2 separate regions of the Homo sapiens genome follow, and region 1 is linked to region 2. Evidence: promoter capture Hi-C in 16 types of primary human blood cells and fetal thymus (Javierre and others, 2016). All regions are on one chromosome and are shown on one strand. The core of a region is centred on a gene start or on the middle of the fragment in contact, and the rest is flanking DNA. Distances in the headings are between cores, read along the strand shown. Region 1 has its middle 39 kb from the start of LGR5. Region 2 holds the start of TPH2 (tryptophan hydroxylase 2).

Evidence for each region. Contacts are between HindIII fragments. The CHiCAGO score rates a contact against its expected background, and 5 or more counts as called.
Region 1: a fragment that was not itself captured here is called in contact with the fragment with the promoter of TPH2 in region 2 in 1 of 17 cell types (non-activated CD4 T cells); the score reaches 5.0 in non-activated CD4 T cells.

What each region holds. Positions count from the first base shown.
Region 1 is chr12:71,399,015-71,403,122 of GRCh38, reverse strand. No RefSeq gene overlaps it. Among named protein-coding and RNA genes, the nearest start is that of LGR5, 39 kb to the left of the region's middle. The HindIII fragment of the contact is 505 bases long and covers 2,338-2,842 here.
Region 2 is chr12:71,937,098-71,941,104 of GRCh38, reverse strand. TPH2 (tryptophan hydroxylase 2) reads right to left here and starts at 2,260. Exons shown (of 11, transcript NM_173353.4): 1 at 2,014-2,260. The coding sequence starts at 2,118. RefSeq lists a silencer at 2,095-2,394. The HindIII fragment of the contact is 5,670 bases long and covers 1-2,942 here.

The DNA.
Region 1 (4,108 bases), core at 1,341-3,840, 540 kb after region 2:
TGGGGCTGCAGGCAATAGCTCAGAGCCTGAGGTATGGTGGTTAGCCTGGTGCTGGGAAAGACCTGGAGCCTGGGGCCAAAGGGGTTGGCCTGGCCTAGCATTGGGCCTGGATGCTGAGTCTGTGGGCAGGGACTGGAGATTCAAGGTAGAGGGGTGCTCATGCCTTCTGCTGGCTCTGTGGTGAAGCTGTGGGTATTATTTCATAGTCCTTTTCCCGTGCAGAGGGTACCACTTTTCATCCTACCGTCTTAAATGCATATTTTTTTGTTTATGTGCTCTACTCAGGTTCTATAATCTCTCACTTGGATTCCTTAGCTCTTATAAAGATATTTTTGTGCATAGATAATTGTTCTAATTGATGATTTTAGGAGAAGGTGTGTGCTGGAAAGCCTTATTCCACCATCTTGCTGATGTCACTCTGGCAAGGACTTAGTTTTTTAAGTCTTATGTGTAAAATGAGAATAATAAAGGTAGTAATCTAATGGGATTGTTATAAAGACTAGAAGAGGCAAAGTGTTTTGCACAGTGCCAGGTGTATATATAGGGAGCTCTCTGTAAAGGTTGGCTGTTATTGTGAGTCTACCTCATTCCTTGTTAGCTCTCTGAACCTGGCAGGGGAACAATGAATAAGTCTGTAGTTGTTGAGATAGCTCCTGAAAGAAGATGGGTTCCTCACTAACACAGGGGCCTTTTTAAGAAGCAGAAAGAGAAAAAGAAAAGACAATCAAAATGACTGCTATTATATCTGTGTCTACATATACAGAATACTGCATCTATATCTCTATCTTCAGAAGCAAAGGGCTGACCCCTGCCAAAAAAGTTCATGGCATTAAAAGGCTGAATAGTAAGGTGAGATAAAAATTTTGAACTTTTTATTAATTTATCTCCCCTAAAACTTTTTTTGATGCATTTTCCCTATTTAAAATATTATAAAAGCGATGATGCCTACATAAAATTCTCATATATGTATACACCCGAAATTTCCATAAGTAGATGTATATGGACACATTCTGAGTAGACATATGCTGACACATTGATAACCATAACAATTCATGGACCCAGTGTTAAAAAGCACTACATTGGACATGAAGGATTATTTATGTAGTTCTCCCTTTATGCATTCTGAAATTTTTTGTTTTTACTTTAAAAAAATTCTACTTCCATTCTTCTCAGAAAGCTTGAAAAAATGAATATAAATCACTATGATATCACCATTAAAATGGCCAATGACTTTTTCTTCACAGTTTAGAAAATATTATACTAATAGAATTTAGGAGAAAATTAGTTTTAAGATGTGGTACAACAGAAGCAGAAAATGATACTCAGAGAACAATGCCATATATAAAGACTCTCGAGCTCAGCTGTGAGCACATTGGAACTGTATTTATGAAAGCCCTGAGAATTTTGTACAGGGAAGGTCAGAGAGTGTGATGGTCCTTCCTCTAGCTGGAATGGGTAGAGGGGACAGCACTGAGGGGAGCTCTGAGGTCTCTTCTGAAGTTTTTAGGAGCGGTGAGATCTGTGAATAGTTCAAAATCTTCTCCCAGATTTGGAGCTCTGTCAAAATCTTTGTGACTATGAAGACAGAGTAGGTGGAGAGAACCTAGTGCCTTGGGGTTCATTCCTTATGGCTGAGGAGTCTCTACCTCATCTGTAGTACTTGCTGCAATGTGGGGGTGAGGTCAGATAAAGAATTATGTGGAATGAACAGAGATTTCTCCTTATGTTCTGCCCTTCTGCTGGACTATTTCATTAGGTGCTCTATTCCTTTCTGTTGGCTTCCCACATCCCCAAATTCTCGGCCCTGTGCTTACGATGTTGAGTACAACTCTTCCTACACCTAGGAGCTCTAATTGGATTCAATGTCTAGTGTCTACTCCACAGACGTGAAGTTTCAGCTCTTCATTCTTTCATCCATAAATTTAAAATGAGAGTGAACTCTAAATTAAGAAGCTGAATCTCTAATATGGAAGTTGATTGAAAACATTGTATGGTCATTTATAAACTAATTTTTTATGGCTAAATTTACTCTTGGGAAATTGAAAATTATTAACTGCAAATCCAATATGCTACTGTGAATAAAATGATAACCAAAGATTTTATTTTATTATTTCATGAGGGCTATTTGGATCTGTAATGCAAGAAGCATTTCAAAGTTTGGACTGTGCTTTAAAAAAGTTGCCAAGTATGTTAAATTGTGCACTTAGTTTTCAATGTGGAGGAACAAATCCCAGATTCAATAATTCAATGAACTAACACAATTCTTCAGAGCTTTAAGTGTATTTGCAATTAAGACACTAATTGCTGTTCATTGGCTGATTCTTTCCCCAGAAAGCTTTGTTCTTCTGCAAAAATGCAAAGTCTTACTATTGATCTGTACTCTCAAAACCCTGTTGATTTAAGCAGGACTCTCTGAGGTGAGAACAACAACAAAACCAAGAGACTTAATTTACTCAGCTTGGGTTTCAGGAAACATATCTAATAGCAGACAGTTCCTGTTTTCATTGTTTTCCATTTAAGTCCCTGCAAAATCAGATTGTCTTCAAATAGATGCTGCTGCCATTGGTATAAGACTCATTTTCACATCCCTAAAGAAATAAAGAGTTTTGTAAAAATTCACTCGTTTAATGGGGCCTCACGTATAATGGGCCTAAGTCAAGCCAAAAGGATAAAGATGGATATCGTGCAAAAGCAGTGATAGAATGACAGCACCAAAGATGTAAAATGTATACTCTTTAGACTCTTTAATGTAGCCCTCAATCACCAAGGAATAATTGCAGGTGGATGGAGGTGAAAAGGAATTTCCTTTGAGAGCAATTCTATTTTGTCTGTTTTGGAAGCTTAATACAGGTTGGTATTAAAAACTTCTGAGGAAAGAAAGCAGGGGATGTAGTTTGAGAAAACTACTACCTGTGATTGTTCTCATTGTTTGGAAAGGTCCTGGGCTTGGCTGTTTTCCTGGAGTTTTGCCTGGAAAGAGATAAATTCTGACCAATCATTAATAATGCTAATGATAATAATAATAATGATGATGACTAATGTTTATTGAGCACATAGTATGTGTTACAGGTAGGTTATACACTAAGCATTATATGTACATATGTATATCGTTTATACATATAATATATATAAAATCTAAGTTAATATAGCAACAGTTCATAATGGTTTGAATTAATGCTTTCATCCTCAATGGCTGCATAGTGTGATGGTTAAAAGAAGCTACAGGATTTTATTTATTTCTTCTTCCACCTCCAATTAACTATGTGACCTTAAGTAAGTTTCTCTCTGAATCTTGGTTTATTAATCTATATAATGGCATAATAAGACCTATCTCATTGGGTTTTGTGAGGATAAAATAATGCTATCCAGTGGCAGAGACAGACGAACCACCCTGCAATACAGTATGATTAATAGGATATATTGAACGGTGCTCAGAGCACTTGCAGGAGGACTTTCTGTTCTCACGGGACTTTGGAAATGCAGGACTTTCTGGAGAAGCTGCCCTTTAAGTGGTAGCTTGAGTTACAGATGGGAGTAAGTCCTGAGAAAGTGAGGGAAGAGTGTTCCAGTTTGAAGGAGTAGAGTGTTCTTGGGGAATTGCATTTTGCTGCACAGCTGTGAAGGGAGTGGGGGCATGTTGAGAGTTGATGCCAGAGAACTCAGCAAACCCAGCTCATAAAGCGTTTTGGATGGCATTTTGGGATTTTGGACTTTCTCCTGAGATCAGAGGGAGGGTAATGAAGAGTTTAAGCAGGAGAGTGACGTAATTAGATTTGTTTTTTGTGACTTTCACTCTCTTTGAGATTAAATGTACTAAAACAGAGACCCTTCCCTGACCCCATCTTTGAGCAAACCCATGAACCCTCTTTGGTTTGTGGACTGTCATCAAGTGAGCTCACAGGTATTTTACTCCAGCTGCACTGATTTCTGTGATAGCATTTTCTTGCACTGAATTGTTTCCTTATCTGAGATAAGTGACATGGTTCAGAGGATAGTAAAATAGCATATCTACTCACAGACATGGCTAGGCCAAATGAATACTTTTTTTCTTCAGTTGCTTTATTGTTTGTTTGTGGATTATATACTTACTATATTAAATGCAGCTAAA
Region 2 (4,007 bases), core at 1,011-3,510:
AAAATATGTCAGCACATGCCCAGAAATTAATGGGTAGTATTACTTTCTTCAGTTAGATCCACATTGTCAATGTGAATCTGCCTGCAAAAGTTCAGCACAGACACATGTATAACTAACTCTAAGGCCATCTGTGTCAGAAGATAATATTTGAGAAGTGACTATTAAAATTCAGTGACAAATAAAAGGAAAAAAGGAGAAAGGCAGGAAGGAAGAAACCTGGCCAGCTAATTATTAGGGGCAAACAGTAAAAATCTGAGAAACTGAAAAAGATTAACACTTCATTAGCCACTTAAGATTTTATATTGCCTGATGAAGTAATGTCTATTAATCCTGCTGGCTAAAGAAAAAAATGACAGATTCCAGTAACTCAGGTCACATTGCCAGAAATGCAGAATAAAAAGCTGGAAACTTTATTTAGGAATAGAATGGGAGGAAACAAAACAAAAACAACAAGCTGGAAACTTTCATTTGACAGACAATGCAAAATTATGTGGTCTGTTTTATATTCTTTATATGCAAATACAGCATTGGGCAGACATAGAAGTAACTCCTGGCAAATGGTGATTTAATACAATCGTACCAATCTACTACATCCTCATGAAACTGAGAAATGTAGGTTTGCTTTGGGACCCAGTGAATAGTTATCTGCCATTGTCTTCTTCTGATTTCTCTACTGGCTTTATTTTCACACATCAGTATTGCCTTACTCACTAGATTTATATATAATAGAGATGGAGATTTTATTATTTATGACTTGAGGGAGGGAAGAAGTTTATGCAGACATTGACATTTGACAGTATGTTTAGTCATTAAAAGCTCAAATGTCTCAGTGTTCTTAACATCTGCCTCCTCCTCACCACACAACACACAGATCTTGCATACAGAAGTAGCATTTTTTATATAAAAGGGTCATACATTAACCATTACCCTGAGCTTACTTTGTTTTCCTTCTAGCAGTTAATTATGACTTCAAAACTCTTCATTGTAATATCTCATCCAAATATTCATGATATTTAAATGTTAAAAAATCTATTTACATTTTGGCCTCATTTTTGCAAATTGATTTAAATAATTCTACAGAAGTTGCCATGTTTACTTTTCAACATTTTTATCAGTAATAATATGTCAGTCCAACGCAGCCCTCTGGCACATATTTGGAGCTACGAAATTAAAACAGATGATTCTATGATACAGACTGAATTGGATTTGGTTGATAAACTCTGATAGTACAGTAATAAAATACCATTTAATATTTTTAATGACTAGGACCTGGATACATTTTTATTTCGTGGTTTTTATTAAATCCCATGACTACTACCTGAAAGCAGGATCTAAAATCCTGCAAATACTGCTTTTTTATCCTGTAGATATTATAAACATAAAACTCCCTTAAATACTATAGCAAGTGGTGTATTGCTTTCATTATTCCATCAAGTAAACTGAAAAAAATTGAGCAATGTGAAACACAGAAAAACTTTTGAAAGGAATCCAATCTTTCTTTTATTCCAATAACCTGCACCCATAACTAAGAAGAGAAAATAATAGTTCTATGTTTAAAGACCAGGCTTTGTAAACTGAAGGGGGTGTAGGAGACACAATGATCTTCTGAAAACCGTGGAAATTTATTTAATTTGTTCTCCCTACTCCTCCTCCTCATAATAAACGGCTTTTCAAAATTCTTCACACTCCATTTTTTTTTTTTTTTTTTTGGCTGTAGATTTAAGACATTGATTCATACAATCTCTCATTCTTAATGTTCAGGAACTTCTTAACTCTCTACTTACAAACTTTGCGGAAAAAAAGTTGAGCACGCAGTGATTGGCACACTCGCTTTACTTATGGAGAGAAGAGGAAGACTGGAGGCAGACAGGAGGAAAGCAGGGTAGACAGATTATAAAGAAGGAGAAATTTGAGGTGTGCGTGCTTACACTACAAAAGGGATTCATATGGTGAGGAGAAGATGGTCACACCCTAAAAAATAATTCTCCATAGTGCCAGGTACGTAGTACTCACTGTTGAGCTGCCAAGTAGCTGATGCTCTTCGGGCACTGCTGAATCCAGGGAAAACCCTCTCCGTGCCCAGTATTTACTGGAAAACATCATCATTGCTGGCTGCATGGATCCCGGTGTAATATTCTTTCTCTGCAGCAGGGGGTACTAGAGGGGCAGTAGCAGCGCTGGCGGAGATTGAGAGGAAGGGGCGTGCGATCAGCTGCCTGCTTGGGGCGCTGTCCAGAACCCTGGTGCTGAAGAGCAATGCGAATCCTCCCATCCCCGGGCTCCTTTATATGAATGACTGGAGACTGATGCAAGACTGATTAGAAAGAAACTCATTTCTGGTTGCCGATGGCCACAGTCAGATTACAGACCTGAAGCCTGGGGTTATCTGTGCTCATAGTGTGATTTGTTTCATAGGTCGAGTAGCTTTTTGGGCGGGGGTGGTGGAGAACAATACATAAGGGGGTGTTATTTGTACAAGAAACCATCTATCCTCTGACGTTAGTTCTCTCATCTCTCAAGCCTGCCACTGGCAAGTTAACCTCAGTCTTTAAGCAATTGTGAATTCAAAGATTTTGTGCTTTCTTTCCAAAATTAGAAAAATAATTTAAGAAAGATCAGCACTGCTGAATGCTTAAACCATTTTACGGATTTTTTAATTTTTAATTTTTATGGATAACTAATAGTTGTACACATTTATAAGGCACATGTGATATTTTGACACAAGCGTACAATGTGTAATGATCAAATAAGGTAATCAAGATATCCATTGCCTCAAGCATTTATCATTTCTTTTTGTGTTAGAAACATTCCAATTCCACTCTTCCAGTTATTTTAAAATACAAAAGAAAATAAATTATTGTGCTCCCGAACACTAGATCTTATCCCTCCCATCAGCATATTTTTTTTACTCATTGACCAACTCCATTTTATGTTAATAAGCTTTTTCTGACTTGACATATTCTAATTTTGTGCATGCAAATGTGTGAGTGTATATATGTGTAATGGCTTTCATAAAAGGGCTTCTTCTTAATCCTGTGATGCCTCTATGCAGAGTTATATGGAGGAAAATGTATTGCAAAGGAAAGGTAAGGGTTCAATTTAGCCACATGTAGATTACATATAGCTCAGATACTAATCCTGGAATCTTCCTTACTAAATGAGAAATAAAAGGAAACTAGATTCCCATATATCAGCCATTCATTTTAATACTCTTGTGGTTTTTCTCTCTACTGGAAATCATGGAAATTTAATCTTTGACATGACCCTTTCATATAAAAAGTGCTACTTAAATATACGAGATCTGTGCGTTATGTGGTGAGGAGAAAGCAGAGGTTAAGAGTACTATGACATTTGAGCTTTTAATGACTAAACATACTGTCAAATATCAATGTCAACTAGATCAAATCCAGCAACTTGACATGCATAGATTAATCAATATTCTTACTATTCAAACCTTAGAAAGTCATAAAATTCACCAGGCCACAGGAAAATGTTACCAATCTCCTGAAGAATGAAAAACTCTTGACCAAATGTGCTTGTTTGACTGAAAATCTAAACAAAATCTGGTGCTGGCACTGCTTGTCTATATAGAAAAAAAATTTCAAAACAAGTCGGGATGAACTAATATTGACTGAAGTTTAATTGTTTCTGGAGTCTTGAAGAGACATAATTATTAATTGATCTAATTCTGAAAATATTATTTGGCTTACATTTTCTGTAAGGGTCAGCTCTAATCAGCTAATAGGAGAAGCAAGTTTAAATAAGGCAAATGAACTAATGACAATAATAGTAGCTAATGTTACTGAGATGTAATGAAAGAACCAGAGATGTGAAGGGATAAAATCCACTAGATAGTGTCCCTGCTTGGATGTGGAAATGAGGGAAAAAAAGATATTAAAAGTAATTTATTTATAATATATATTTAGAATATTAAAGATTTAACTACTTTTGCTCACCCTGGAAACCCTATTAAAACAAGATAAAAAATTCCTTTTCAAGGTACACAA